Regions from separate parts of the Homo sapiens genome. Here all the other regions are linked to region 5. Evidence: promoter capture Hi-C in 16 types of primary human blood cells and fetal thymus (Javierre and others, 2016). All regions are on one chromosome and are shown on one strand. The core of a region is centred on a gene start or on the middle of the fragment in contact, and the rest is flanking DNA. Distances in the headings are between cores, read along the strand shown. Region 1 overlaps ZNF267 (zinc finger protein 267). Region 2 holds the start of RUSF1 (RUS family member 1). Region 3 has its middle 3.1 kb from the start of AHSP. Region 4 has its middle 9.4 kb from the start of LINC02190. Region 5 holds the start of KRABD5 (KRAB domain containing 5). Region 6 overlaps ZNF267 (zinc finger protein 267).

Region 1 (5,116 bases), core at 1,345-3,844, 190 kb before region 5:
CTCAATAGATGCAGAAAAGGCCTTTGACAAAATTCAACAACGCTTCATGCTAAAAACTCTCAATACATTAGGTATTCATGGGACGTCATAGATAAGAGCTATCTATGACAAACCCACAGCCAATATCACACTGAATGGACAAAAACTGGAAGCATTCCCTTTGAAAACTGGCACAAGACAGGGATGCCCTCTCTCACCACTCCTATTCAACATAGTGTTGGAAGTTCTGGCCAGGGCAATCAGGCAGGAGAAGGAAATAAAGGGTATTCAATTAGGAAAAGAGGAAGTCAAGTTATCCCTGTTTGCAGATGACATGACTGTATATCTAGAAAACCCCATCGTCTCAGCCCAAAATCTCCTTAAGCTGATAAGCAACTTCAGCAAAGTCTCAGGATACAAAATCAATGTGCAAAAATCACAAGCATTTTTATACACCAATAACAGACAAACAGAGAGCCAAATCATGAGTGAACTCCCATTCACAATTGCTTCAAAGAGAATAAAATACCTAGGAATCCAACTTACAAGGGATGTGAAGGACCTCTTCAAGGAGAACTACAAACCACTGCTCAATGAAATAAGAGTATACAAACAAATGGAAGAACATTCCATGCTCATGGGTAGGAAGAATCAATATTGTGAAAATGGCCATACTGCCCAAGGTAATTTACAGATTCAATGCCATCCCCATCAAGCTACCAATGACTTTCTTCACAGAATTGGAAAAAACTACTTTAAAGATCATATGGAACCAAATAAGAGCCTGCATCACCAAGACAATCCTAAGCCAAAAGAACAAAGCTGGAGGCATCATGCTACCTGACTTCAAACTATACTACAAGGCTACAGTAACCAAAACAGCACGGTACTGGTACAAAAACAGAGATATAGACCAGTGGAACAGAACAGAGCCCTCAGAAATAATGCCGCATATCTACAACCATCCGATCTTTGACAAACCTGACAAAAACAAGCAATGGGGAAAGGATTCCCTATTTAATAAATGGTGCTGGGAAAACTGGCTAGCCATATGGAGAAAGCTGAAAATGGATCCCTTCCTTACACCTTATACAAAAATTAATTCAAGATGGATTAAAAACTTACATATTAGACCTAAAACTTAAGAACCCTAGAAGAAAACCTAGGTAATACCATTCAGGACATAGGCATGGGCAAGGACTTCCTGTCTAAAACACCAAAAGCAATGGCAACAAAAGCCAAAATTGACAAATGGGATCTAATTAAATGAAAGAGCTTCTGCACAGCAAAGGAAACCACCATCAGAGTGAACAGGCAACCTACAGAATGGGAGAAAATTTTTGCAACCTACTCATCTGACAAAGGGCTAATATCCAGAATCTACAATGAACTCAAACAAATTTACAAGAAAAAAACAACCCCATCAAAAAGTGGGTGAAGGATATGAACAGACACTTCTCAAAAGAAGACATTTATGCAGCCAAAAGACACATGAAAAAATGCTCATCATCACTGGCCATCAGAGAAATGCAAATCAAAACCACAATGAGATACCATCTCACACCAGTTAGAATGGCGATCATTAAAAAGTCAGGAAACAAGTGCTGGAGAGGATGTGGAGAAATAGGAACACTTTTACACTGTTGGTGGGACTGTAAACTAGTTCAACCATTGTGAAAGTTGGTGTGGCGATTCCTCAGGGATCTAGAACTAGAAATACCATTTGACCCAGCCATCCCATTACTGGGTATATACCCAAAGGATTATAAATCATGCTGCTCTAAAGACACATGCACATGTATGTTTATTGTGGCAGTATTCACAATAGCAAAGACTTGGAACCAACCCAAATGTCCAACAATGATAGACTGGATTAAGAAAATGTGGCACATATACACCATGGAATACTATGCAGCCATAAAAAATGATGAGTTCATGTCCTTTGTAGGGACATGGATGAAGCTGGAAACCATCATTCTCAGCAAACCATCCCAAGGACAAAAAACGAAACACCGCATGTTCTCACTCATAGGTGGGAATTGAACAAAGAGAACACATGGACACAGGAAGGGGAACATCACACACTGGGGCCCGTTGTGGGGTGGGGGGAGAGGAGAGGGATAGCATTAGAAGATATACCTAATGCTAAATGACGAGTTAATGGGTGCAGCACACCAACATGGCACATGTATACAAATGTAACAAATCTGCACGTTGTGCACATGTACCCTAAAACTTAAAATATAATAATAAAATAAATAAAAAAATAAAAATAAGTTAAAAATTAAAAAAAAAAAAAAAAAGAAAGAATTCTTGGGGCCGGGCACAGTGACTCATGCTTGTAATCCCAGCACTTTGGGAGGCCAAGACGGGTGGATCACGAGGTCAGGAGATCAAGACCATCCTAGCTAATGCAGTGAAACCCCATCTCTACTAAAAATACAAAAAAATAGCTGGGCGTGGTGGCAGGCACCTGTAGTCCCAGCTACTCAAGAGGCTGAGGCAGGAGAATGGCGTGAACCCAGGAGGCGGAGCCTGCAGTGAGCCAAGATCTCGCCACCACACTCCAGCCTGGGTGGCAGAGCGAGACTCCGTTTCAGGAAAAAAAATAAAGAAATAAAGAATTCTTAATAAAAGCTAAATGAATTTATATCCATTAGACCTGTCATACAAGAAATGCTAAAGGAGTCAGTTCTTTATATTGAAAAATAACATGATGGTAGGGAGGAACACAAAATCATGTAACAGTATAAAGTTTTCTGGTTAAGGTAATAATATACACAAATAAAGTATTCGGTATTATTGTAATAATAGTATATAGAATACTTTTAATTCTGCTATACATTTGAAAAGACAAACACTTTCTCGTGTGTGTGACTGTATGGCTCTCTTTTTTTTTTAATTTACCTGATACAATTCTGTATTATTACTAATTACATGGAAATATAGGATACAAAGATGACACAAAATTTTCAGTATCTTGTGGAAATGAATACACTACACACACAGTTTATATATATATATAAATAAACACATTGTGTGTGTGTATGTGTGTGTGTGTGTATATATATATGGATGACACCAAGGGTTCAATTAAAATGCAACTGGCAGCTAGATTAATTTCTAAAAAGGTAATTAAGAAGTCCTAATTGCAATTTACTTCTTGATTCATTTTTGTTTTATATTACAATCTAGGTTATTAGAAAATACACTCATATGAGTATATCATTTATAATATGCTTATAAAGTATTTTAAATAAAAATATTGAGTGGCATTATGCAATCTGTATAACCAATAACTAGGCATTAGAGAGCCTGTTAACTTTGAAATACATACAGGTATGCAGACTTCCTGTTCCTAAACACCACAGTTAGGCACATCTCTCACATTTTCCTTTCACTATGTAATTTTAAGATTTTTTCCTCTTGCTTCTCTAGTTCTTTTAATCGTGATGTTAGGGTGTCGCTTTTAGATCTCTCCTGCTTTCTCTTGTGGGCATTTAGTGCTATAAATTTCCACCTACACACTGCTTTAAATGTGTCCCAGAGATTCTGGTATGTTGTGTCTTTGTTCTCATTGGTTTCAAAGAACATCTTTATTTCTGCCTTCATTTGGTTATTTACCCAGTAGTCATTCAGGAGCAGGTTGTTCAGTTTCCATGTAGTTGTGCAGTTTTGAGTGAGAGTCTTAACCCTGAGTTCTAATTTGATTGCACTGTGGTCTGAGAGACAGTTTGTTGTGATTTCTGTTCTTTTACATTTGCTGAAGAGTGTTTTACTTCCAATTATGTGGTCAATTTTAGAATAAGTGCAATGTGGTGCTAAGAAGAATGTATATTCTGTTGACTTGGGTTGGAGAGTTCTGTAGATGTCTATTAGGTCTGCTTGGTCCAGAGCTGACTTCAAGTCCTAGATATCCTTGTTAATTTTCTGTCTCCTTGATCTAATATTGACAGTGGGGTGTTAAAGTCTCCCATTATTATTGTGTGTGAGTCTAAGTCTCTTTGTAGGTCTCTAAGAACTTGCTTTATGAATCTGGGTGCTCCTGTATTGGGTGTATATATATTTAGGATAGTTAGCTCTTCTTGCGGAATTGATCCCTTTACCATTATGTAATGGCCTTGTCTCTTTTGACCTTTGTTGGTTTAAAGTCTGTTTTATCAGAGACCAGGATTGCAACCCCTGCTTTTTTTGCTTTCCATCTGCTTGGCAGATCTTCCACCATCCCTTTATTTTGAGCCTATGTGTGTGAAAAGACAACACTTAAAAATAACCGTAAATCTGTGTTAATGGATTCACAATAAAAAGCATATAATTTGTGACCTCAATAAAATACAATAAGGGGACATAGAGAGGCAGGATTTTTGTATGCTACTAAAGTTATCAGGTTAATACAAATTGTTAATAATTTTAAGATGTTTTGTGTAATATCTATGGTAACCACAAAAATACCTATAGTAGATACACAAAAAGAAATGAGAAAGGAATCAAAATATGCCACTATAAAAAAAAATCAATAAAACACCAAGGAAGACAGCAAGAGGAAAACAGAAACAAAAAAGCTACAAAATCTAAAATAAAAAACAAAAAGCAATGTCATTCCCTTTCAGTAATTACTTTGTACATAAAAAAAATTAAATCATTCACAAGACAAAATTTGGCTGAAATTCAATAAACAAGATCCGACTCTATGCTTTCAATAAAAGACCCACTTTAGATACAAAAACACACATGGGCTGAACATGAAAGCATGGAAAAAAGAAATTAAATGCAAAGTAAAATACTATCAGACAAAATATACATTACATCAAAAACTGTCACAAAATACAAGAAAGGGCATTATATAATAATAATAATAGTGTCCACTGACCAGAAAGCTATAACAAGCATTAGCATATATGCACCTAATGTCACAGCTCCCATATATACATTGTGACCTTTCACAGAATTGAAGCAAGTAGCTAGCAGCACAATAATAGTAGAAGACTTCCATACTCCACTTTCAGTAATGCAAAAACGAACAAAACCAAAAACAGAAAGAAGATCAATAAGGAAACAGAAGACTTGAACACTAAAGACAATTAGACTTAACATATATACATAACTTGTCACCCAACAACAGCAAAATACACAATGT
Region 2 (4,700 bases), core at 834-3,333, 200 kb after region 5:
GACCCCAACTTAAATTTTTGTTAAAAAATTTCCCTTGGCCGGGCACAGTGGCTCATGCCTGTAATCCCAGCACTTTGGGAGGCGAGGCAAGCAGATGAGTTGAGGCCAGGAGTTCAAGACCAGCCTGGCCAACATGGCAAAACCCCGTCTCTACTAAAAATACAAAAATTAGCTGGGTGTGGTGGTGAATGCTTGTAACCCCAGCTACTCCGGAGGGTGAGGCAGGTGAATCACTTGAACCCAGGAGGTGGAGGTTGCAGTAAGCCAAGACTGTGCCACTGCACTCCAGCCTGGGTGACAGAGGGAGACTCCATCTCAAAAAAAAAAGTTTCCCTTGATTCCACTGATTAGCTCAATTCTCCTTCTAAAAGTCCTCATATTAAATAACATGTACCCCTCTACAGCAATTGAAATAGTTCCAACTTTGCATTTATTTGTATGATTTGATCAATATCCTTCCCTAATATAAGTTCCAAAAGACCAAGACCCTTGTTTGTTTTTGCTCACTATCCCAATGAGCACATAGGTAGCAACAGGTATTTGTAGAAGAAACTGGCAAACCATTGGTAAAAAAGAGATAACAAACACGGAGTTAATGACAACTGCACGGTTCAAGCGATTTTCTTGCCTCCGCCTCCCGGATAGCTGGGATTATGGCCACACCACCCCCACGCCCAGCTAATTTTTGTATTTTTAGTAGAGATGGGGTTTCAACATGTTGGCCAGGCTGGTCTTAAACTCCTGACCTCAAGTGATCCACCTGGCTCGACTTCCCAAAGTGCTGGAATTACAGGCGTGAGCCACCACGCCCAGCCCAAGGATCACTTTTGAGGCCAGGAGTTTGAGAGCAGCCTGGGCAACATAGGGAGGCCCTGCCTCTATTTAAATAAATATGTTTTTAAAGTACTTAGTCTTCAAACCTTGTTTTATTTTTGTCCTCTATTCAAACCAGTACCTGAATTTAGACAACATTACAGAAATGTTGTGATTAGGCCATTTGTATTTTGAAACCCGAAATTTAAAGAAAAAAAAAAAGAAAAGAAAAGAAGTGTTCAAGTTTATCTCAGTCAGAGAGAGACTGTGTTTGTGTGAGATAAGGCGAAGTGGGGTAGAAGGGCCTTCCAGGATTAAGTCCACGAGGAAGGTGACGGTTTGGGAGAATCTGAAGTTTCAAATAAGGAGTTGTCGGTTGGGATCAAACTGTGGGGATCCAAGAATGCCAGGCTAAGAAACCAGGATATTTTATTTTCTGATAAAAAGAGGATGCTTTTTTGGCAAATTTCTGCTTCGGAGTGAAGATGCTGCACTAGATGGGAAGGAGAAGAGGAGAAATGGAAAGAAGAAAAGGTGAGTTCCAAGGACAGAAACACTCCCTCTTTGGACTCCCCCCAATTTCATGGACTCTCTCCCGCAAAAAAACACACAAGAACTTCCTGCCTTGTTTCCTTGTTTTGTGACATCATTGCAATCTCTTGATTTTTTTCATCCCTCGGATTCCTTAGCATCCTTCAAAAGTAATGTTCCTGCAGTCTCGCAGAAGGCCGAAGGATGGAGAATTTCTAGTCCAGGCCAGGGACACTCAGAAGAGAGAAAAAAAAAAGAACAAAAAAAGACCCAAGCAGCTTCACAGGGCCTCATCTGGTCCAATTTCTTCTCATGATGCATTCATTCACTCATAAATATCTTTTGAGCACCTACTATGTGTTGGGTAGATCTAGGGATAAAATCAGGGTTAAAAATACAGTCGCTGGTCTCACAGCAAAAAAGGCACCTGAGGCCCAGAGAGGGCCACTGACTTGCCAAAAGTCACAAGCTAAAACTTCTGTGGCCGAACCGCGTCTCGAACACAACTGGCGGAGGCCCACGGCGCCTGCAGCCCAGCTGCAGAATGCTACAAAGCAACGGGGGCCGGTGCCGGGGCGTCCGAAGCAGCGCCGAGGCCGGAGAGAGCGACAGTCAGTTTCCTAACTGCGCGGCGGACGCCGAGGCCGGCGCCTGTTCTTGAAAGATGTCCCTCTGCAGCCGCGGTAGCCCAGCCGGAAGTGCCGCCTGCCACGTCCACCGTGCGGCAGGGGCGGGGCTGGGATCCAAAAGCTCGGCATGGCTGACGACGCGGGTTTGGAGACCCCGCTGTGTTCCGAGCAGTTCGGCTCCGGGGAGGCACGGGGCTGCCGCGCCGCCGCGGACGGGAGCCTGCAGTGGGAGGTCGGGGGCTGGCGCTGGTGGGGGCTCTCCAGGGCCTTCACGGTCAAACCTGAAGGACGAGATGCGGGCGAAGTGGGGGCTTCCGGGGCCCCCTCACCGCCCCTCTCCGGGCTCCAGGCCGTGTTCCTGCCTCAGGGCTTCCCTGATAGCGTCAGCCCGGACTACTTGCCCTACCAGCTGTGGGATTCCGTGCAGGTCAGCTCGGTCGTCTGGGGCAGAGGACAGTGCAGGCCACTCCTCCCTCCCCAATAATGGACGGGTGACTGAGACTCGGAGCCCGGGGGGCGGGGGGTCTGACATGCCTCATACACCAAGAACAAGAACAGATGAAGGCACTTAGACCGCCACGCTCCTACGCCCGCTTCTCACCCTACTTGTTTTCTTCTCCAGGCGTTTGCTTCCAGCCTCTCCGGCTCCCTAGCCACCCAGGCAGTCTTGCTGGGCATAGGGGTGGGGAACGCAAAAGCCACTGTTTCAGCTGCCACGGCCACCTGGCTCGTGAAAGGTGAGCTGCACCCCTGGAGCCTCACGTATTGCTGCTTTCAGCCCTGCTTTCGCTGGGCTCTTATGTGTATATATGTATGGACTCGTGCCCCATTAGGTAGAATTCAGGCAGGTCTCCCCAGTGATTAGAGTGGTGCTTTGTAACCCAGTCTTACTTCCCACATCTGGAAGACCCTCATCCCACTCACCAGCCTAGCAGCCGCACTCCATTCCCCACACAGACTTCTGAGTCTCAATCATCTGGATCCCAAATCCCGTCCCCTCCCCTTTATCCCTATTCTCTTTGTGGAAGATTGCATAAGAATGCAATTGATGGAATAAAACTGCCAGCTGCCCAGGATAGGGGAAATTGGTGAGCTCCAGAAAAAAAAGATATAGTTGGTCCTGAGAAGGAGAGAGGAGAGCCTGGAAAGAATGGAAGGTATTGTGTATGCTCTGGGATACCAGATGATGCTGTAAATAATAGAGTGACTATCTGCTGAATATGTACAGCTTTTAAAAAATTGTTTAAGGAAAAAAAATACAGTTTGGTACCATGCCACCCAGAGAGGGAAATAGAACAGAAAAGGGAAATTGTTACATGTTCTACACGAGGAGGCCCCATGGCTTTTGCCACTGTCCTTTGTCTTTCACTACTGCTCGCAGGGGATATTTATTAGGCTGGTGCAAAAGTAATTGCGGGGTTTCTTTGTCGTTATTGCCATTAAAGGTAATGGAAAACCCGCAATTACATTTGAGCCAACCTAATAGATCTAAGGAAAAGCGCTTTCCATTCGTAGCATCAGTCTGGCCACATCCCTTGTGAGCCTCTCTGGATTTTTTTGAGAAAACAGGAGCTTCCTGTTTACACCTTTACCATTAAGACTGAGAAAACTGGGCCGGGCACGGTGGCTCACGCCTTTAATCCTCGTACTTTGGGAGGCTGAGGCATCCTGGGCAACATAGGGAGACCCCCATCTCTATTTTTTTTTTTCCAGACTCGTAGTCTCACTGTCACCCAGGCTGGGATGCAGGAGTGCAGTGGCACAATCTCAGCTCACTGCAGCCTCCTCCTCCCGGGTTCAAGCGATTCTCCTGCCTCAGCTTCCCAAGTAGCTGGGATTACAGGCATGTGCCACCCTGCCCCGCTAATTTTTTGTATTTTTAGTAGAGACAGAGTTTCACCATGTTGGCCAGGCTGGTCTCGAACTCCTGACTTCGGGTGATCCATTCGCCTCAGCTTCCCAAAGTGCTGGGATTATAGGCGTGAGCCACTGCGCCCGGCTTGTTGGCCGTATTTTTGGAATGCATTTGGAGCTTGGGTCAGTAGTTTTTGTTTTCATGTGATGTCACCAACATGTTGCCTATACAGATTGAATATCCCTTATCCAAAATGCTTGCAACCAGAAGTGTTTTGGATTTTGGAATTTTTTTTGGATTTTGGAATATCTTCATGTATATAATGAGATTTGTTGGGGATCAGACTCAAGTCTAAACATGAAATTCGTTTATGTTTCATATATACTTTATACACATACCTTAAAGGCAGTTTTATACAGTATTTTCAATGGTGTGCATGAAACAAAGTTTGTGTTCATTGATCCATCAGAAAGCAAAGATGTCACTGTCTCAGCCACACGTGGACAATCTGGTTGGTTAGCGTCCCCATCGTTCCTGACTCTGAATGTATATGCTACCAAGAAGCAGTCATTTTCTTATACCTATTCACACAGAAGTACTTAACAGTATAAAACATGATATACCACTAATACAGTGAGAAATTGTGTGTTCAGGGTAACTAAGCAGCACAGCAGATCACCAGAACACCTGTATCAGCTTCTGAACCATAGCAGCAGCAACAAAAACGGCAGGCTGTCAGTCTTCAGCTGTTTTGGTGAAAAGGTTACTGGACACCATATTTTATTTTTTTAAGGTGAGAAGAAACATTAGAAGCAGTTGAAGGACAGGAAGCGGGTCCTCTAGGGATGAGGAAGTGTTCTGCTGGATGGCTT
Region 3 (5,038 bases), core at 1,545-4,044, 190 kb after region 5:
TCTCAGCTACTTGGGAGGCTGAGGCACGAAAATCGCTTGAACCCAGGAGGCAGAGGTTGCAGTGAGCCAAGATCACACCACAGCACTCCAGCCTGGGTGACAGGGCGAGACTCCATCTCAAAAGAAAAAAAAGAATGGAGATGGATTTGTCTTGTTTACTACCCTGTCAACAGGTACCCAATAAAGCAGAAATACTCTTTTTCCTCTTTTTAAATATTTTTCCAGATATTTTCCATTTTCAGTAGATGTTTCTCAAATTTCAAAATCACTATATACTAATTGAAATAATTAAAACAATACAAAAACGTACACTGAAAAACTGAATCATTTTTGCCCCCTCCAAAGTAACCAGCATTAAACATTGTATATTTCCTGTCACTTTTTTTTTCCATTCAAAACCCAACATTCATAGGTGCCTATACACTCATAAAGCTTTGTTGATTTGCCTTTTTGGTTGTAGCATTTTTTAATCAATATACAGCAAAACTGACTTCCTTTTGGTGTACAGTATATTAAATTTTTTTTTTTTGAGAGGGAGTCTCCCTCTGTGGCCCAGGCTGGAGTGCAGTGATGCGATCTCAGCTCACTGCAAACTTTACCTCCCAGGTTCAGGCGATTCTCCTGCCTCAGCCTCCCAAGTAGCTGGGATTACAGGCGTGCATCACCACGCCTAGCTAATTTTTGTATTTTAGTAGAGATGGGGTTTCACCATGTTGGCCAGGCTAGTCTCGAACTCCTGACCTCAAGTGATCGACCCACCTTGGCCTCCCAAAGTGCTGGGATTACAGGTGTGAGCTACCGCATCTGGCCTAGTTTATTAATTTTATAACAGATTTGTGTAACTACAAACGCAGTTAAGATACAGAATGTTTCTGTCACCCAAAAACCACTCCTTCACGTTACCCTTTTGTAGCCACCCCTACCCTCACCCATAACTTCTGGCAACCACTTATCTGTTCATCACTACAGTTAAGCCTTTTTCAGGATGTCATATAAATGGAATCATACAGTATGTAACCTTTGAGACTGACTTTTTTTGGTCAGCATGATGTTCTTGAGCTCCATCCAAGTTGTCACAAGTGTCAGTGGACACATTGCATTGTATGGATGCACTGTAGTTTGTTCATTCAGCCACGGAAGGACATCTGGATTGTTTGTACTTTGGGGCAAGTGTGAATAGAGTTGCTATAAACATTTGTGTACAGGTTTCCATGTGAACATGTTTTCATTTATATAGGGTGGAAAGTATGTGTTACCGGCCAGGCACGGTGGCTCCCATCTGTGATCCCAGCACTTTGGGAGGTCAAGGCAGGCAGATCACTTGAGGTCAGGAGTTCGAGACCATCCTGGCTAACATGGCGAAACCCCCTCTCTACTAAAAATACAAAAATTAGCCAGACATGGTGGCATGCACCTGTAATCCCAGCTACTTGGGAGGCTGAGGCAGGAGAATCGCTTGAACCCAGGAGGAAGAGGCCGCAGTGAGCGAAGATCACGCCACTGCACTCCAGCCTGGGTGACAGAGTGAGACCTTGTCTCTAAATAAATAAATAAATAAATAAATTTATTATCTTACAGACTTAGAGGTCAGAAATCTAAAATGAGACTCACTAGGCTAAAATTAAGTTGTCCTCTAGGCTGTGTTCCCCTTGGAATCTCTGAAAAAGAGTTCTTTTTCTTTCCTCTTCTAGTCTATAGAAGAACCCACATTCTTTCACTCCTGGTCCCTTTCCAGCTTGAAAGCCAGCAATGACCACCAGGTCCAGTCTTTCTCACATCACACCAGGCCGACTGTCTCCTACATCCTTTCACTTCTAAATAATTTTTCTTAAATATTTCTTTAAAAATAATTCATTACCAGATGGGAAAGATCAAGATCCCAATGCCCTTCCAAAGCTCATTAAGGAAAAGTTTCAGGAAGGTCTCTGGTACATGCCAGGAAACTCAAAAGAGATGGTGCTGCCTCAGATGGCTTAGAAGACCATGCTGCCAAGAACACATCTAACATTGAAGCCACGCACAGTGGCTCATGCCTGTAAGAGGCAGAGACGGCAGGATCGTCTGAGCCCAAGGGTTCAAGACCAGCCTGGGCAACATAGTGAGACCCCATCTTTTAAAAAAAAAAGGAAAAAAAAATCTAATTTTGTTCATTCCTCAAAATTTCCTGGCACAGTTGGAACTAATCTAACTACCTGGACTATAATGAATTGCAGAGTAAAATTAGTGAGATGTAGTGAAGAATTGAAGTCTCCTCCCTCAACCAGTGTCTTGAGAATAGCAGGGGAAACTGATTCCCTTTCAGCATGCTAGATACATCAATAAAGGAAGGGTTGAACGTGAGATTACAAAAACACATTTGCTAAAGAATTGTAGAAAACCAGGATCACAAACTCATTCTGCAACAGAAAAATAAAGCACTGCTGATTTACAGAGGAATTCACTTCTGGTGATGTCTCTTAAAAATTAAGAAACCTAATAGGAACTCCCTCATCGAGGCAGGCTCTGCTTCAGCTGAACAAGAAATTAGCCAGAGGGAGGAAAAGAGAACTGTTTGGACTTCCAGGAAGGCCTCTCCTTCCACCGAGAGGACTGCAATGAAGACCTCAATCATCAGGGAAAGAAGAGCCTTCTCCAGAAATCTGATTGGAATTGATGACCCAAATCCCACTCAGTCAACGCAAAACCCTGACTTGCTCGTGGCAGTACCAGGTTGGAGTCAGGGCAAAAAGGTTGTAGATTTCATGTTACATAGTTTGGCCCATGGTTTCCCCTGTGAACATTTTGGGAGGGAGGTGAGAGCTGAACTGGTTAGGTGGAACCTTGGTCTTATTTCCTGGAGATGTGACGTTTTTGGGGCCTGTTCCTGCTGTGACTGGCACAGCAATCAGGACCTGCAGCCTCCAGAGGGTCCCAGGGCTGGGGAGGAGACATGAGCCTTGCGCATCTGAAGGTCAGCGTCTTGGCAGCATGGCTACTCGCAAGAGGGAGGAGCTCACTCTGGATCCATTCGAGAGAGACTTGTCCCTTCCCCCTCTTCTGCCCCACCCCTGGGCCACTTTCCTGTCCCCTGACTCCCACTTGACTTTGTTTTCACTAATTGGAGCTTAGCTCAGAAAATGGAGGGGGCTGAAGTTATAGGTTATGGGAGGGGAAATTTAAGTTTGGGAAGACAGAGGCTCCCTTGATTGGCACTATCAGCCACATCTGCAGCCACATGAGGGTCTCAATGCTGGGGCAGGGGGCAGTGAGACTGGCCAGGAACCTGAGTCCCCCGGGGACTCGCAGACACCTGCCCCACACATCCTGAGTGTGCTGAGGGAGACCCAGCCGAGATCAGCTGTGCTCCTGGGTAGGTGAGAGCAGGCCCTGCAGGGGGCCCAGTCCACCCAGGAAGGATGCCCAGAGTGGCTGAGTGTGCACCTCCCTCTTCTGCCTCTCCTTTTCCGCTGCAAGCAAGACCGGGGGTCAGGAGTTACAGGTGCCAGAGTCCAGAACGGGCCCCTCCTCCCCAGCAATGTGGGTGGGGTCAGGGGCTCAGGTCAAATTCAAGGAAAATCTTCAAGCCACATGGTGTAGAGCCAAAGCTAAAGAGGCCGCCCTAATAATAGACAGCAGCAGCCCCTTACAGATATGCTCAGACTCATAGGGTCTCAAAATGCAATTCTCCACAGTAGAAAGGACATCTGCCCTGACAGAAGACTGCACTCCTAGATAAACAGGGGTCATCTGGCCCATTATTTAAAGGTAGACCCGTATGTTCAGATTATGTTAGTGGAATAAAATTCATGACATGAACATTTTCTTTGGAAAGAAACATCCCTTAAATGGCTCCTGGAGCCTAAAACATCCTCTGGAACTCCCTTGAGGCCATGTACGTCATGACTGCTAAAATTATGATGAGAACCAAGTCTTATTTTCCTACAGGTAAATAGAACAAATGGAGACAAAGGCCTGGGCAGCCCCACTGCATGTTTCAGGAGGAAAAGTAATGTCAGCTAGGGATTCTTTCCTTTAACTGTCTTCAAATTCTTTCATCCAATCCTTCTAAAGAATCTTTGTGTATACTCCCACACAAGTTTTGTAGACATTTATTTTTGCCTCATACATTTAAATCATAGCAAAGGCTTTTAATTGTGACAGGATCCAAACACATTTAAACAAACCGCACATCGCTCTTTTGAATGTGTCCAACACAATGTTAATGGGGTGGTGATTTGGCCCTGACCACTATATATTTTTTTAAAAACCAAACAGGTTTTTCCTTAGCAGCTGGGAGTTTTACAACATGCCTTTTACTTCTTGAACTTGTATTTCTATTCCACTATCCCCACTTAACTTTATCCTAAGATAACTCACATGCTTTTGTGCTTGTATTTTGTTCACTCCCATTCTACTTACTTGCAACTTCTCTCATGTGCTGTGTCTTTCTGTTGGTCTCTCTGTCTCACTCTCTCTCTGTATAAATACATGGATAGACAGCTCTGACATATATATTCAAGAGGAAATTTATATATATATATAACATATATAGACACATATTTAGTAAAATGCGGTTTACCAAAGTGAATGTTTCAAATTTTAATAAATATTTATGAAACAGAAATTCCAATTGTATTGGAAATAAATCCTCTAATCAGATGGATGGCATAGAATTGAGGGAATTGTTGAAGGGTCCCTATTCTGGTGGTCTGGGACAACGCCCCTTGTAAATTTCAGGCAGGTGAGATTGGCAATTGGGAGAAGGAAGGAAACGTGAGAAGGGCCCAGGGGCAGGGACTCCCCTGGACACCGTTTCCGGGCCTAGTTGATTTTGAGAATGAGTGAGTATGGACTTCAAAGAACTGGAATTTGATTCTCTAAAACTTCCCAGGACCGCATACCCATTGGAAGGGTTCTTCCTGCTCATCTCGGGACCATGGTGTTCTGCCTACAGGGGTCTCTGAAATACCTGGATTAGTAGGAGACAGCTGAATTCTCACAACTGCTTCTGCTTTGGGGAACTCCACCCCACACTGCAGAGCAGAGGAGAGTGAAAAAG
Region 4 (4,684 bases), core at 1,532-4,031, 170 kb after region 5:
TTTAGTAGAGACGGGGTTTCACCATGTTAGCCAGGATGGTCTCGATCTCCTGACCTCATGATCCGCCCACCTCAGCCTCCCAAAGTGCTGGGATTACAGGCGTGAGCCACCGTGCCCGGCTATTTGTGGGACATTTTGTTTTCTGTTGTGTTTTCTCTTTTTTTGAGATAGAGTCCACCCTGTCACCCAGGGTGGAGTGCAGTGGCGCGATCTTGGCTCACTGCAACCTCTACCCTCCCAGTTTCAAGCGATTCTCTGGCCTCACCCTTCCAAGCACCTGGGATTACAGGGGCACACCACCATGCCCAGCTAATTTTTGTATTTTTAGTAGAGACGGGGTTTCACCATGTTGGTCAGGCTAGTCTCGAACTCCTGACCTTGCGATCCGACAGCCTCGGCCTCCCAAAGTGCTGGGATTACAGACGTGAGCCACCACGCTCAGCCTTGTTTTGTTTTTGAGACAGAGTCTTACTCTGTTGCCCAGGCTGGAGTTGCAGTGGTGTGATCTCGGCTCACTGCAACCTCTGCCATCTGGGTTCAAGCAATTCTCCTGCCTCAACCTCCCAAGTAGCTGGAATTACAGGCGCCTACCACCACACCCAGCTAATTTTTTGTATTTTCAGTAGAGATAGGGTTTCACCATGTTGGCCAGGCTGGTCTCAAACTCCTGACCTCAGGTGATTCACCTGCCTCAGCCTCCCAAAGTGCTGGGATTACAGGCCTGAGCCACCACACCCAGCCTATTTGTGGGGTATTTTGAAGCCAATTTTATAATGGCCAACCTTATGCCTTGAGGGATAAAAGATGAAGGGCCAATGTGGATGAGGAATTTTAATGGTAGTTTTGTTGCTCCATAATCAGCCAGAGACAGAACATTGGTTCACTCCTCTTAACCTACAGCATAGGGTGAAGAGAATATTGCCAGGAGGCCTTCACGCTTGTCGATGGGCATCATTTCTTAGGTCTCTTTTTCTATAGTTTGGAGTAAATATAAATGAGGCAATGATTAGACATTTGTCCCTCATAGTGGGCTCTGTAGCAGCTTCTACTGCAAAGGCTTTGGTTGTACAGCAGTCTTCTTCAAGTTCCGTTGCTATAGTTGTGCTAGATAATAGAATAACTCTAGATGACCTAATGGCTGAACGTGGAAGAATCTGCACATGGTTGAATACATAGGTATTAGAGAGATTTAGTTGTAGGGAATTAACAAACAGCCTGCTGGGTTAAAACAAGTACTCTATCTAGCTCACTCCTTGATCTATTTTATTTTAATTGGTTTGGTTTGGACCCTGGCTAAGGAGCATACTCCAAACTCTTGGTATTATCCTCCGGATACTCACAACAGTAATCTCCCAAGTATTCTGTATTCTCTCAAAAGTATTAAATGTTTGTTTGCAGCCATCTATGGAATGGCAAATGATCTCTTTGACTGGAATGACAAAAACTCAAAGAAATGTATGCTCATTGTTTGAAATGCTTGTTCCCTGGTGCTATAAAGAAATAGCACTTGAACATAAATTTAATTTACTCAGCAAGGCCATTTTTACTTCCTGCAGAAAGGTTACACTTGCCAGCAGTTTTGCCAAGAGAGTACACTGAACAAAGGACACAGGGTTATTTATAACCTGACGTGTCCACCCTACTGCTGTGCCTGGTTTCCACTGGCTGGAATGGGGCCTTACATTCTGTATTTGTCCCAATTGGCTAGCAATTTAGAACTTTTTAAAAGAGTCAAAGGCAGAGGAGAACAAAGGAAGGAGGGAGTAACTTGTGGAATACTAAGAAAGGTAAAAACACCTTCAAATAAGGAAGAGGAACAGGCTATGACTTAATGCTTGCTTGAACCAGTATAAGCATGCCAGGGCAAATATTTAGGCTAAATTGTGGGAGCTAAGAACACAAAGTACATTGATTTCTTTATCATGGCTAGCAGATATTTAAGAATGTTAGCACAGGTCTTTGAATAAATTTTGCTTCTAAGGGAAGTTACTATTTATTCCTAATTAAATGGGGAGGAAAATCTTTGAAGAGGAACCTCTACTTTACTTTTTACAATCATGAAAACAACACAATCTATGAATGTATTTGCTGAGACCAGAAGCCCAACATGATAGTGACTCAGAGTAGCACTAAAGCCCTAAGTTTTGGTCACACACAAAATTGAGAGTTTGACCAAAAGAGGAGATTGTTAAATTAAGTTTAGCCTAAACCTGTCTTCTTATATATTTTAAGTTTGGCCTAAAAGTTTCTCTCTACCTAGTTAACTGTAACTTACCTGGATGTATAGATAGACTATGGCCTGCTCTTGTACCAATCATTGAGCTTTGGCCAATCAAAGACGGCCAATTGTTCACATCATGTTCAAATAAGATAAATGCCAAGCTATACCCAATGCAGCTGTTTCTGCAGCTCACTTCTGTACTTTTTTCTGTATGTCACTTTCTTGATTCTGTCCATAAATCCTCTCCAACCACACAGCAGCATGGAGTCTCTCTGAACCTATTCTGGTTAAGGGAGCTGCCTGGTTTGCAAGTCATTCTTTGCTCAATTAAATCCTGTTCAACTTAATTTGCCTAAAGTTTTTTTAAAAAACATGACCACAATGAACATGAGCTTGGAATACCTTAGGTGGGAGGAACATGGTAGGTGACATTGTTGGGAGGATGAGGTGAGGCCAGAATGGGGTTTGAGGGCCAGAAAGGGACCCGTCTGTGAGGCTGATGAGGTCGCTATTGGTAACTGTGCCTGTTATATGGGGACAGGGTTATTACCCCTACGAAACATAAGAGAAGAGGAAAAGCAGGAGGTATTTCCCTCACATTTTTTTACATTTCCACAAGAGCCAATAGCCAAGTACATGGCTTCTATCCTTCATTCTCATAGTGTCCAGAATAACCAGCAATGTCCAGTGAAGAAGGGGCTCAAGTGCACACAGCAGTCTTCTAAATACTGACCAAAACAAATTAGGTTTAAAAATCATCTACATCTTTCTCCATCACAAAATTTTTATCAAGTTAATTTTTAAAATTGGGTTTGATTTTAAAAAACTTTTTAAATATATAAACATTACTTTCAAAATTCTGGTTGGTTAAATGCCAAGACCAGCTCAGTCGGGGGAGACCCTAACCCAGTGGGGTTAGATGAATTAAAGACACACACACAGAAATATAGCATGTGGAGTGGGAAATCAGGGGACTCACAGCCTTCAGAGCTGAGAGCCCTGAACAGAGAGTTACCCAAATATTTATTGACAGCAAGCCAGTGATAAACATTGTTTCTATAGATTATAGATTAACTAAAAGTATTCCTTATGGGAAACAAAGGGATGGGCTGAAACAAAGGGATAGGCTCTGGCTAGTTATCTGCAGCAGGAACATGTCCTTAAGGCACAGATCACTCCTGCCATTGTTTGTGGTTTAGGAATGCCTTTAAGAGGTTTTCCACCCTGGGTGGGCCAGGTGTTCCTTGCCCTCATTCCGGTGAACCCACAACCTTCAGCATGGGTGTCATGGCCATCGCAAACAAATCACAGTGCTGCAGATTTTGTTTATGGCCACTTTTGGGGCCAGTTTATGGCCAGATTTGGGGGATATCCCCAGCATGTCCCCCTTCTTGTTTTTGCAGGGCAATAAAAGCAAAGGTGGCTTTATCACGGTGAGCTACTTCTCACAGGAGTCGGGATCCACATCTGCAGACTACACAAAAACAAACAACACAGATTAAAAGCACAATCACCATTGAAATCACAGAGCCTCCAAGTGTCTTTATCTATTTTAATGGGTTAATAGCTGCTAATCCGTCTGCAGCTCCTTCAAGCACTGCAGTTCCTGGCATTACGGTCAGGTGTGCCTGGGATGCTTTAAATATTTGTTCTTTTAATTTTGCAATATCCAAAGACAAATTTGTAGAGTGTCCTTCTAGATCCTTTTTTATTCTTTCCCAAATTTTGATCTTACTAAGAACCATTAATAGTTTCCACAAATCCTTATGTTTAGCTCCTATAGCGGGCCATATCATCTGAGGTTGAGGTGCCACTATACTGCCATGTTTCAATATAATAGGAACTCTTGCTGTACTTCTTACCATTTCTACCATCTGACCATTTTGTTTAGACCAGTTGAACATAGGGTGGCCATGGCACACTATGCTCCAACACTGTGCTCCAATCCAGTGATCATAACATTGGAGTAATATTTCTAGAGTGGTGGCAACACAAAGTATATCATCCATATAATGAATAATGTAACGCTGTGAAAATTTTTTACAAGTAGGTTCAGTTGCTTGCCCTATATAAGTCTGGCAAATTGTTGGACTGTTTAACATGCCTTGTGGCAACACTTTCTAGTGAAAATGCTTAGCAGGCTGCAGGTTGTTTACTGCAGGAATCGTAAATGCAAACCATTCACAGTCTTGCTCAGCTAAAGGAATAGTAAAGAAACAGCCTTTTAAATCTATGACTATTAAAGGCCAATTTTTTGGAACCATAGCAGAAGAAGGGAATCCTGGCTGTAATGCTCTCACAGGTTGTATAGCTGAATTAATGGCTCTTAAATCAATTAAAATTCTCCATTTACCTGATTTTTTCTTAATTACAAAAACTGGAGAATTCCAAGGGGAAAATGTTGGAGCTATGTGTCCTTTTCCTAATTGTTCAGTAACTAAGTCCTCTAAAGCCTCCAGTTTC
Region 5 (4,797 bases), core at 333-2,832:
CTCCCTTCCAGCCCAACCTCGACCACATCCGCCTGTGAATCCCCTGCTTTCCAGAACTCTGCAGCTTCTCCCAGTAACAAAGGGCTCCCTCCATGGCTGCTGTGAACCTCAGGGACACCTGAAGGGGGCGCTCCCCAGGAAGAACTAACTGGGCCTTCAATGACCTCCTTTTGCAGGCTCAAATAAGACTGAGGTCTTCTATGCCTAGTCAGGGTTATTCCACACACCCGCTTCTCAATTCGCAGGCTCTCTCTTTCAGGTCCATCGAGGTGGGGTGCCTTCTTCCCATCTCATCAGCTCTCCACAAGCATCTAGCGAGCTCTAAAACCTACCCCAGGATAGCAAACGTCAGACCTTCCTCCACTCTCCTGGCACTGCACGCCTTCTGGGGAGTGCTGCCAATCCTACCTCAACTGAAGGGACAGGAGCAGGTGCCCAGCCAGTCAGATGTTCAGTGACCTAACAGGTTTCAGGAAAATAGCAAAATCACTCAAAACAGTTTTTATAGAAAGGAAGGAAACTGTAAGGCACTTACACTTTATACTTCAACAGGTAAGGCCAAAATACCTCTTTCGAGCAAGAAACATGTCATTTAATTATTTCCATAATAGCAGATCATTTAGTATATGTGAACACTTCTAGGAGGTGCCAAGTCCTGTCTCATAACATTTGGCATTAAAGTCGGACATCCAGATAGCAGTAGAATATGGAACACAGATATCCACTGTCACAAATCCTCCACTGCAAAAGAGAGGACCTGATATTTTAATGAATGTTTGTAATTGACCAATTAATCTAGCACACTTTCTGTGGAAATGTATTCGTTTTCTACAGCCAAAGTGGAAGAGAGATTGTCCCTATTTCTTTTCCCCAGCAGCATTCCTAAGCTGAGCCCTGGGATTTTGAAATCGCTGCTCCAGAGGACCCTAAACCACAAACCACGGCGGCAGGCTTCCCATTTCACCAATCGCTGTTTACCTAAATCAACCCTTTAACGCTTTAAGGGTGACTCCCCTTAATTTGTAAGAGGAAAAAGGAGACTGGGACACCACGGGGCACAGTATCTTCCCACACACGAATCACACGCCGACCCGGGATTTCCCCTAAGACCCTCACGTTCTCACCGCACAATCTCGGGAGACGCCGGGCTGCGGCGACCCAAAGACGGCTCCGGCCATGGCAGAGGTCGCTCTGCGGGGTCGGGAGGGGACCGGACGCGCGGGGTCCCGGCTGCCGGCCCGGCCGCCATCTTGCGGCGGAGGGGACCAAGGGCCGAGTTGCGTCCGCGGGGACTCAGGGCCCAGACCCCGAAGCTAACCTCAAAGAGGGTTCCCGCCGCTTCCGACCGCCCCTCTCCCTCTTCTGGGGACCCCCGACCTGGCACATTCACCATTTCCCAGCTTCCGGGATGTCCTGGCGTCTGAGCTACGGATCTCCCGGTGCCTGCCGGTCACAGAGTAACAGAGGTTCTGTCTATTCTCAGAACGCGAAGCCGCCTTGGCCTCCCAGATGGAAGGACTGGGAGCCCCTGGTGAAGAGACTGAGCTCTTACTGCAGCCAACAAAGGCCACCGCCAAATCCCGGAAGCCGCCCCTGCTCTCCGGCTACTCCCGATTGGAGGATTTCCACTCCGACGCCACTGATTGGGTAAAGCTCCAGGCCCCGCCCTCTCACTCGTTCTGCTTTTTGAATGGGAGACAGGCTCATTGAGGTGGGGCCACCTGCTGAGGGTATTACAGCTAATTTAAGGGGTGAGCTTGGACTTGAAATGCACTTGCTTTCCCGTACCTGGTTTTGCTTGTATAAGGCATCTTATTAGCTAATTAAGTTTAAGAAGGAGGGCATTTGGGCACCTTTAAAACAACTTTTTAACCGTTCTAATAACACAGGAAAGACCCTCATCCCATCCTTAGCACCTCTCATCACACGGTACCCCACTGCTCAGGACATAACTGTGGGACTGCAGAGGAAACTGCTGGGGTTTTTGGGGAGCATGCAGGAGGCTTCAACAGCCAAGGTAACGGTGGCTTCCCTTGGGTGTCACTTAAAATCTTGGGGTCAGGGACATCTTTTATCCAGTTGGCTCAGGGAAACTAACAGACAGGAGGATTGTAATTTTTTTTTTCTTTTCTGAATTTCCAAGACATAAAGGACTATCCAAGCATCCCAAAAGGCATTCAATTATACATAAGGCTGAGGGCCTCCCTGCTCTGGAGAGGGATGGCCTGGCAGCCACCAGCTGCAGTGAGCTGAGATAGTGCCACTGCAATGGGCCTTAAACTTGCCCTCTTGTAGACAGGCCACCTCCACACACCCGCTTCTCACATCGCAGGCTCTAACCCTCCGGTCCATCAAGGTGGGCTGCCTTCTTCCCATGTCATTAGCTCTCCACAAGCATCTAGTTAGCTCTAAAACCTACCACAGGATAGCAAACGTCAGACCCTCCTCCACTCTCCCGGCACTGCACGCCTTCTGGGGAGTGCTGCCAATCCCACCTCAACTGAAGGGACAAATCTGGGCAGGTGCCCAGTCAGATGTTCAGTGACCTAACAGGTCCAGCATGCCCAGGGCCTGACCCCACAGCCTAGCACCCCTCCCCCACCTGGCCTTCAATCCAGCCTTTCTTCTCCAATGACGGGATGTTCACCTGTGCCACAATCCCATTAGTCTAGTGACGAGGCCAGGTAAATCCCAGCTGAGTGCCTGTGACTCCACCCTCTTACTTCCCACTCAGGTGACATTACAAGCATAACCTTGAATTTGAGCTAATTTATACATATTCCTCTCCTAGTAACCTGTTTGACAACAGCCCTCACAATCCAGAGACTGGGGCAGCAGGTTCCAAAACCTCACTTTATTCCAATGTGAAATGAAGACATGATGGTTTAAAAATGAGAAAAAGTTCCTGATAAGCTGTGGGGGTGCTTCACTTGCCAGCTCATGCCCATTCCCTCTGAAACAAGGTGTCTGTTACCCATAAACAACTCTCTGTAAAGCCCCAGGTAGAGGTCACAGCTGGACGTGGCTCCCTCAGGCTCACAGGGTAGCAATCTCCTCCCCCAGTCCAGGCTTCCACAGCAGGCACGGACAGGTGCAGAGAGGGAGTGGCCATGGCCTGTGGGGTCCCCTGCCACCCTCAGAGCTAGTCTCTGCAGAAGGTGCTGTGTGGTAAGCAGCAGGGCTCCACAGAGAGGTGACAACCCTTCCTGTGTCTGCAACCTTTCCCCAGGATCCATGATTCAACCCTGGCTCCCTAGGCCCCTTACCCAGCACACCCTCCGTGTGTCAGGCAGCTCAGGTTAAAATGGGGAGAATGATATATTCCGACTGTAGACCCGAAGGTTCTGTCCATCTGGGGTACAGGGAGTAGGGACGCCAGTCAGAGCCTGTGGTAGCGCCTCCTGCTGGGCCTGAGGGCAGACAGGCCAGGGCTGGGCACAGGGACATCTGGGGGACCACCACTGACAAACCTGTCCCTCTCAGCCTGGAGCTACGGCCAGGCCAATCATGATTAATAAAACCACTGCAGCCTTCATCCTGCCACAAAACTAAAGTGGACCCCAACCCCCAGCCCTGCCACAAAGCTCTGCTCCCCATCTTTTTTGGCTTAAAACTTAGACATTAAGCCAGGTTGGGCCTGGGAGTTGTGGCAGTAAAACCAGCAGCCATAACGTCAACCACGCAAATGAGCTGAGGAATCCCATCTGTACATCATCCACTCAGAACTGCCTCGGAGCAATGCACAGGCTGGGACAGATCAATACTCATGGCCATGGATGCACTCCACACCCCTGTTGGAAGATGGAGAGGCTGAGGGGAATATGGGGAGCCCGAGTGGCCCCTCAGCTGGGAACTGAGGACCGTACATGCCATTCACAGGTCTTCAATTAGGCCTTTGCATCTTTAGGCTTTGTTGAATCAGTGCAAAAGCATCTTTTGGGGGGCATGCAGGCTGGGGTCCCAGGAGGATGGTGGGAGTGGAACGTGGAAGAGGGGCTCACTTCCTCTAAACTGCGAGCATGCCCCCTTCTCCTGGAGTCTGCATCGCTAACATCAGGGCCGCTGACTCTCTCTCTCTCAATCCCTGCAAGCTCAAGGAAAAAGGATCCTTGGCAGCCACAGGGCTGGGAGCTCAGTTCCTCTGCCCCCAGGGGCTCAGATTCAGTGGCCATAGGGGTCCCCAGCCCTAGCTCTGTTTTTTTGGTTTTGTTTTTTTGAGACAGGGTCTCACTCTATCACCCAGGCTGGAGTGCAGTGGCACAATCATGGCTCACTGCAGCCTGGACCTCTCAGGCTCAAGCGATCCTCCACCTCAGCCTGCTGAGTAGCTGGGACTACAGGTCGCGCCACCACGCCAAGCTAATTTTTGCTTTGTGTAGATGGGGTTTCATCGTGTTTCCTAGACTGATCTCCAACTCTTGAGCTCAAGTGATCCACCCACTTCAACCTCCCAGAATGCCCTATCCCTGTTTTTCTGGATTCCTGGAGCTAGTGACGCTGCACCACCTCTGCTTTCAGATTCTCCTAGTCTTCTGGGTGAGTAGAAGGTGGGAGAGGAGGTAGGTGTCAGACTGGGCCAGGGCCCTGGGCCCCCGCTAGCTTGGTTAAACTCCCACTTGGGACAGATCAGGTTCCGTGCCATATTCAGTGAGACGCGTGGAACAAGTACTTCCCTCCCAAAAGCAGAAAGATCCCTAATTGCTGACAGTCAGGATTCCATGCACTTGACTCGGCCTAGGGCCCAGTTGCCTCTAACCCTCTCACCCAGTTCCAATCACTGCACTCTGTGGCCTCCCT
Region 6 (5,112 bases), core at 1,363-3,862, 170 kb before region 5:
GCATCTAATGTGAGATGACTGATGTGGTAATTAACTTTGCTGTGTTAGTCATTACACAATGTGTATGTATATCAAATCATCAAGATGTAACCTTTAAATAGATAATATTTATATTGTGGAAAGAATCATATGTCTAGAAAGAAAAAAAAGGAACTAAAGGACACATTCTCAGTAAGCTTCATACTGAACCAGACAAAATTATAGAATGATAGTTATTAAGATACAAGGCAACAGTTTAGAGTTTATTATATACTGGACAATGTTCTAAGCTCCCCATAGACAAAAATTTAGATAAGAAGTCTATATAATAAGTAATACACATTAAACTATTTTACATTTGTGGAATTTGTGCCTATAGAGTTTAAATTTCTCATCTTAGTTCAGGTGAGAAAAAATGAGAAGTTGAAGTGAAACATAAGATTAGATTTTCTTAGATTTGGGAAGATGCCTTGTATTTTCATAAAATTACTGCATCTTAATTTCTATAGGATCACCTTGGAAACCACAATACGATTAAAAATTAATGTATCAGAAAATATGTGACATCTATCCACAGAATTCCTGAGACTTCTGAAAAAAATTCCACTGTCCATCACTCTCCTCACACACTTCTGACATGAGGCAAAACCAGAACTTTAGAAGTGGTTTCACATAGAGGTAGAAACATGCACAGACTTTCCCAGAGCCCCCAAATCAATGGAAGAACAGTCAGATCAAGCAGGCCCTCACAGGCCAAGGGGAGCACTTTGGCTGTCACTGTGAATATGATGGCGGATCACAGAAGAGGAAGGAGAATCATCAGATAATTCAAGAGCATGGGACAGAAGATGTCCCTCTTTGACAGCAAGGGAAAGAAATAAAGCCAGGTGTCTCAAAAATCATTTCCACTGGAGAACTTCCCAATCCACACTTCAAGGTCTGGTTCTTTCTTGACTTCTGGACCTCTCGCCCATGTCATCTACTTCATTCGCTCCCACCTACCTGGCTGGATGGCTACTGTCTCCTCACTCTTCACATTCCAAGGCTCTTTCCTTTGTTCCAAAAAGGTGATCAGGTCCGGCTTAGAGACAACAAGACCTGTTTTATTGGAAAAATTCACATGACTCTTAATGAGGGTTCTTTTTATTTTTTATTTTTATACTTTTTTTTGGCCCCACAGGACAGGATTAATTTCTAACTTAGTACTGTGCTCAGTAGAAAAAATAAGACATTATAGAAGATTCTTGAAAAGTATTTCTCAAAATATTGTTTCCTACCAGCTTCTTTAGAATATTTAGGAAGCATTTTAAATCTGGGGATCCTGAGCTTCTGCAAATCTGACTGAATCAAAAACAAACAAAAAAAATTGGATTTTAAAGTGTAAGCAACAATAGTTTATGTCAACCAATTTCTAGAATCACGACTAGAGTGAAACTTGTACATCACCTCAAATAAAAAGGCGAATGTCAAAATCAAACATTATGAAATTTTTTCTACTTCAACAAAACCCCTATTTTTTTCCTGAAAACAAGAATCTAAAACTAACTCATACAAAGCACAAGATCCCAAGGGACATTCTGAAAAGAAAATAAAACTCTTAGTTATTAGATATTCCGAAGGCAAGTTATCCTCACCCAGAGAGACCAGGTTTCTGTAGTTTTCTAACATCACATCCTGATACAAATTCTTCTGAGCTGGTTCCAGGTGTTCCCACTCCTCCAAAGAGAATTCTACGGCCACATCCCTGAATGTCAACAGTCCCTGAAATAAAAATAAAGAATACACTGACCATGTGGCCATGGCAGAGTTCTTCATTTGTCCCAAGATGAAATGACAGTTATTGGTTCTGACATATATGAGTGACCTGAATTATTCAGTAAGATCATTTTTAACACAGTAATATTTTCTAATGTAGTCTCAAACTCTGTGGAAAGAAAATAACATAAAATCCACAAAACTAGTGTAGATATTTATATCAAATGTAAAATATAAAACTAAGGCATCAACACAGGAATATACATTTTTGGGTGCTATATTTACATCATCCAGAATCAGCTGTGTATAATTCTCAGGTGCAAAAGTCATGGTGACTTAGAGGCATACTTCTCAAATTGTATAGTATACAACAATAAACTGGAGATCTTCTTCAAAGGCAGAGTCTGATTCAGGAGATCTAGATTTTGAGTTTCTGCATTTCCATATTTTTTAATTTTTAATTTTGACACAGGGTCTCGCTCTGCCACCCAGGCTGGAGTGCAGTGGTTGAATCTTGGCTCACTGCAGCCTCAACCTCCTGGGCTCAGGCGATCCTCCTGTTTCAGCCTCCTGAGTAGCTAAGGCTACAGGCATGAGCCACCATGGCTGGCTGAGTATCTGCATGTCTAACAAGTTCACCAGTAGTGTTAATGCTTCAGGCCCCAAAGCCACTTTTGAATAGCAGAGAGGTCGAACACTGAGGAAAGAATTCAGGCATGATGTGAAACTGAGAGTTTTATGAAATTTACAAGTTATAACAGCTAGAATGGTAGTAATCCTTTTTGAACATGCACAATATATCAGATATCATCCTAAAAGTTGTTTACATATATAAAACCCAATAAATAATCTGAGAAAAATTATATTCTTCCTCTTATATAAAAATTATTTTCCAAATATTTGCTACATAGTAGTTTGTATTTTGCCTCAGTTTATCTGATTTAGAATTTATCTCAAAGGGACATACCGGCCAATATACAGAGACAACCTTAACAGAATGTTCAGAGAAGATTTCGTAACTGAGTAACGAAAACAAGAAAGCAGCCACACAATAGTGATCGAATAATGCTTTCATTTTATGTGCATATGTGCACATAATGGTAACTATATACACACTAAAAGTAAGATAATATTTCTGTGTAAATAAAATTTAAAAATATTTTAAATTGTATAAAAACTATAAAACTCTTTGTGGGTGATGCCTTTTTTGTGATGCCTTTATAAAGACCAATACATACAATGAAATAAAGTAAAGGCTCTTGTTTCTGAGTCTGGTATTTTTTTTCAAGTTTTTGTTATGTTTATTCTATGTGCTATTATATATTTTAGAATTTTAAGACAATAGACATATTTGTTATATGTTAATTCTTGTTCTTTCTCTGAAAATATAGAGAATAAATAAGCATATGCTTGTGACATGAGATGAAATAAAATGGAAACCTACAGAACTGAGACCTGCTTCAGAACTTCCAGTCTTAAAAGCTGTTATCTCCTGTCAACAAATGTGAGAGCCTTTACTCTGCAAAGAAAGCTACAAGCAAAGGGAAACCAAAAAGAAATGGGAGTCTCTGGATTAAATGTGATGGTTTATAGACATCACTCAGTAAATCCTCCCTCCTAGATACTCATTACAAAGAGAAAAATGATTAACTTTATAGCGAAGGAATCTGACAGAGAGCACCTGCACCAAGTGAATGAAGTTAGCATCGTCTGTAATAAGACAAATTGGTACCAGTGCTAATGCACAGATGGGCCCATAATCATTGCTGTGATATGGGCGGAGGGGAACAGTAAATCATAATCTTAATATAATCATAAAAAAACAATCTGTGGGGGAAGATACAGGTGACCATAGATCTTCAAACTGGTTATGTGACCCTACTTAGAAGCCTGGGCTGAGAATCACTTAGCTAAGCATTGCCTCTCAAGGTTCAATACGCATACATATCATTTGGTATTCTGGGCCCCCTCTAAGTAATGTGATTCTGCAGGTTTGGAAAGTTTCCATGAACTGGCTTCTTTAACAAGTCCCCTGTCAATGCTGATGTTGCTCCTCCTAGACCCATTATCAATAGCACTCAGCTAGAGGAAGCAGACACAGCACAGAGTCCCTTACGCCCAATACTCTAATCACAACAAAAATACTTTTCGTTCACAGTGAGGACCACCAACCACTGTCCTGAAAGATCACACCCTTTGCCAGCCATTTAAAGTCTACAGATACAGAGACTGGAGAAGACAGTTATGTCTAAGTCAGCATTTGGAAAACAGCACGGATACATGCATTAAAGCAGTGTTTATTGAGCTTGTACTATGTGCTCACAGTATGTACTGTGCTGGGAACATCACATGGTGTGAGTTAAGCCATATAAACCCCTGGGATATGGGTCCTAAGTATCCCATAATTCCCAGCAGGATTTAGATAATGGCTCAGCCTTTCTATTTCTTCTTGTTTCCCTATCACTATAAAAGCTAACTATAGACAGATGGGAGGGATACAGAAAGGAAGGAGTCAAGTTTAGTTCACAAGAATTTCTCCACTGGGCACGGTGGCTCACGCCTGTAATCCCAGCACTTTGGGAAGCCAAGATGGGTGTTATCACTTGAGGTCAGGAGTTCAAGATCAGCCTGGTCAACATTGTGAAACCCTGTCTCTACTAAAAATACAAAAATCAGCTGTGCATGGTGGCACACCTATAATCCCAGCTACTCGGGAGGCTGAGGCAGGAGAATCATCTGAACCGGGAAGGCAGAAGTTGTGTGAGCCGAGATGACACTATTCCAGCCTAGGCAACAGAGTGAGATTCGGTCTCAAAAAAAAAAAAAAAAAAAAGAAGAAGAAAAAGAATTTCTCATTATTCTCTTTATATCTTTATACTGACTTTGTGACAACTTGTGAAGCAACTACTGGATCTGCAGAAATGAAAAAGATGTTGCCAGGTGGAATGTTTCTAAAGGTACTGGTTTCAATAAGAAAAAAATTTAATTTTCAAATAATTTTGAAAAAGTGAGTCCTGTGCTCCCATTTACCTGCTTTTGGGTTTGGGGAAATTGTGAGCACCACCTCTGAAGAGATGGCAGCAGCGGCCACCCAGAAATCTGATCTCCTCTAGTCAGTTCTGTGAGGGGAGGCTCCAGGGTAGGGACAGACCTGGACCAGGCTCAGAAGAGGCTGGATTTGGGCAGAGCTGGGGCAGGGGCTGGGCTAGGCTTCTCATCTCTACATTGCTGCTTTATTTTCAGCTGTCTTTCCTAAGCCTGACCAACAAGAACTTGACTCCCATGGTTTGCCTTGTTTAAATAGTTTAAGCTTCATCCTATTTTGTAACATGCAACAAGCAATTTAACCAAAACATGTAGGGCTTTCTACGAAAATTA

What was found. Contacts are between HindIII fragments. The CHiCAGO score rates a contact against its expected background, and 5 or more counts as called.
Region 1: a contact is called between a fragment that was not itself captured here and the fragment with the promoter of KRABD5 in region 5, in 3 of 17 cell types (M2 macrophages, total CD8 T cells and neutrophils). The highest score is 5.7, in M2 macrophages.
Region 2: a contact is called between the fragment with the promoter of RUSF1 here and the fragment with the promoter of KRABD5 in region 5, in 9 of 17 cell types (M0 macrophages, naive CD4 T cells, megakaryocytes and 6 more). The highest score is 7.8, in M0 macrophages.
Region 3: a fragment that was not itself captured here is called in contact with the fragment with the promoter of KRABD5 in region 5 in 9 of 17 cell types (neutrophils, M2 macrophages, naive CD8 T cells and 6 more); the score reaches 11.9 in neutrophils.
Region 4: a contact is called between a fragment that was not itself captured here and the fragment with the promoter of KRABD5 in region 5, in 2 of 17 cell types (neutrophils and M2 macrophages). The highest score is 9.4, in neutrophils.
Region 6: a fragment that was not itself captured here is called in contact with the fragment with the promoter of KRABD5 in region 5 in 13 of 17 cell types (activated CD4 T cells, neutrophils, total CD4 T cells and 10 more); the score reaches 8.9 in activated CD4 T cells.

What each region holds. Positions count from the first base shown.
Region 1 is chr16:31,897,924-31,903,039 of GRCh38, reverse strand. All of the region lies in intron 3 of ZNF267 (zinc finger protein 267), which reads right to left. Among named protein-coding and RNA genes, the nearest start is that of ZNF267, 27 kb to the right of the region's middle. The HindIII fragment of the contact is 9,198 bases long and covers 1-5,116 here.
Region 2 is chr16:31,505,774-31,510,473 of GRCh38, reverse strand. It overlaps RUSF1 (RUS family member 1), which reads left to right and starts at 2,083. Exons shown (of 13, transcript NM_022744.4): 1 at 2,083-2,400; 2 at 2,596-2,710. The coding sequence starts at 2,101. It overlaps RUSF1-DT (RUSF1 divergent transcript), which reads right to left and starts at 2,010. Exons shown (of 2, transcript NR_186401.1): 1 at 1,438-2,010; 2 at 908-1,301. RefSeq lists enhancers at 1,533-2,102, 1,667-2,381, 2,382-3,097 and silencers at 2,203-2,252, 2,313-2,372. The HindIII fragment of the contact is 29,640 bases long and covers 1-4,700 here.
Region 3 is chr16:31,522,304-31,527,341 of GRCh38, reverse strand. No RefSeq gene overlaps it. Among named protein-coding and RNA genes, the nearest start is that of AHSP, 3.1 kb to the left of the region's middle. The HindIII fragment of the contact is 4,720 bases long and covers 435-5,038 here.
Region 4 is chr16:31,541,810-31,546,493 of GRCh38, reverse strand. No RefSeq gene overlaps it. Among named protein-coding and RNA genes, the nearest start is that of LINC02190, 9.4 kb to the left of the region's middle. The HindIII fragment of the contact is 8,775 bases long and covers 1-4,684 here.
Region 5 is chr16:31,710,029-31,714,825 of GRCh38, reverse strand. It overlaps KRABD5 (KRAB domain containing 5), which reads right to left and starts at 1,582. Exons shown (of 5, transcript NM_001130913.2): 1 at 1,391-1,582. The coding sequence starts at 1,393. RefSeq lists enhancers at 122-171, 1,296-1,415 and a silencer at 1,146-1,205. The HindIII fragment of the contact is 15,701 bases long and covers 1-4,797 here.
Region 6 is chr16:31,881,126-31,886,237 of GRCh38, reverse strand. It overlaps ZNF267 (zinc finger protein 267), which reads right to left. Exons shown (of 4, transcript NM_003414.6): 2 at 1,614-1,740; 3 at 982-1,077. Among named protein-coding and RNA genes, the nearest start is that of ZNF267, 9.9 kb to the right of the region's middle. The HindIII fragment of the contact is 4,868 bases long and covers 179-5,046 here.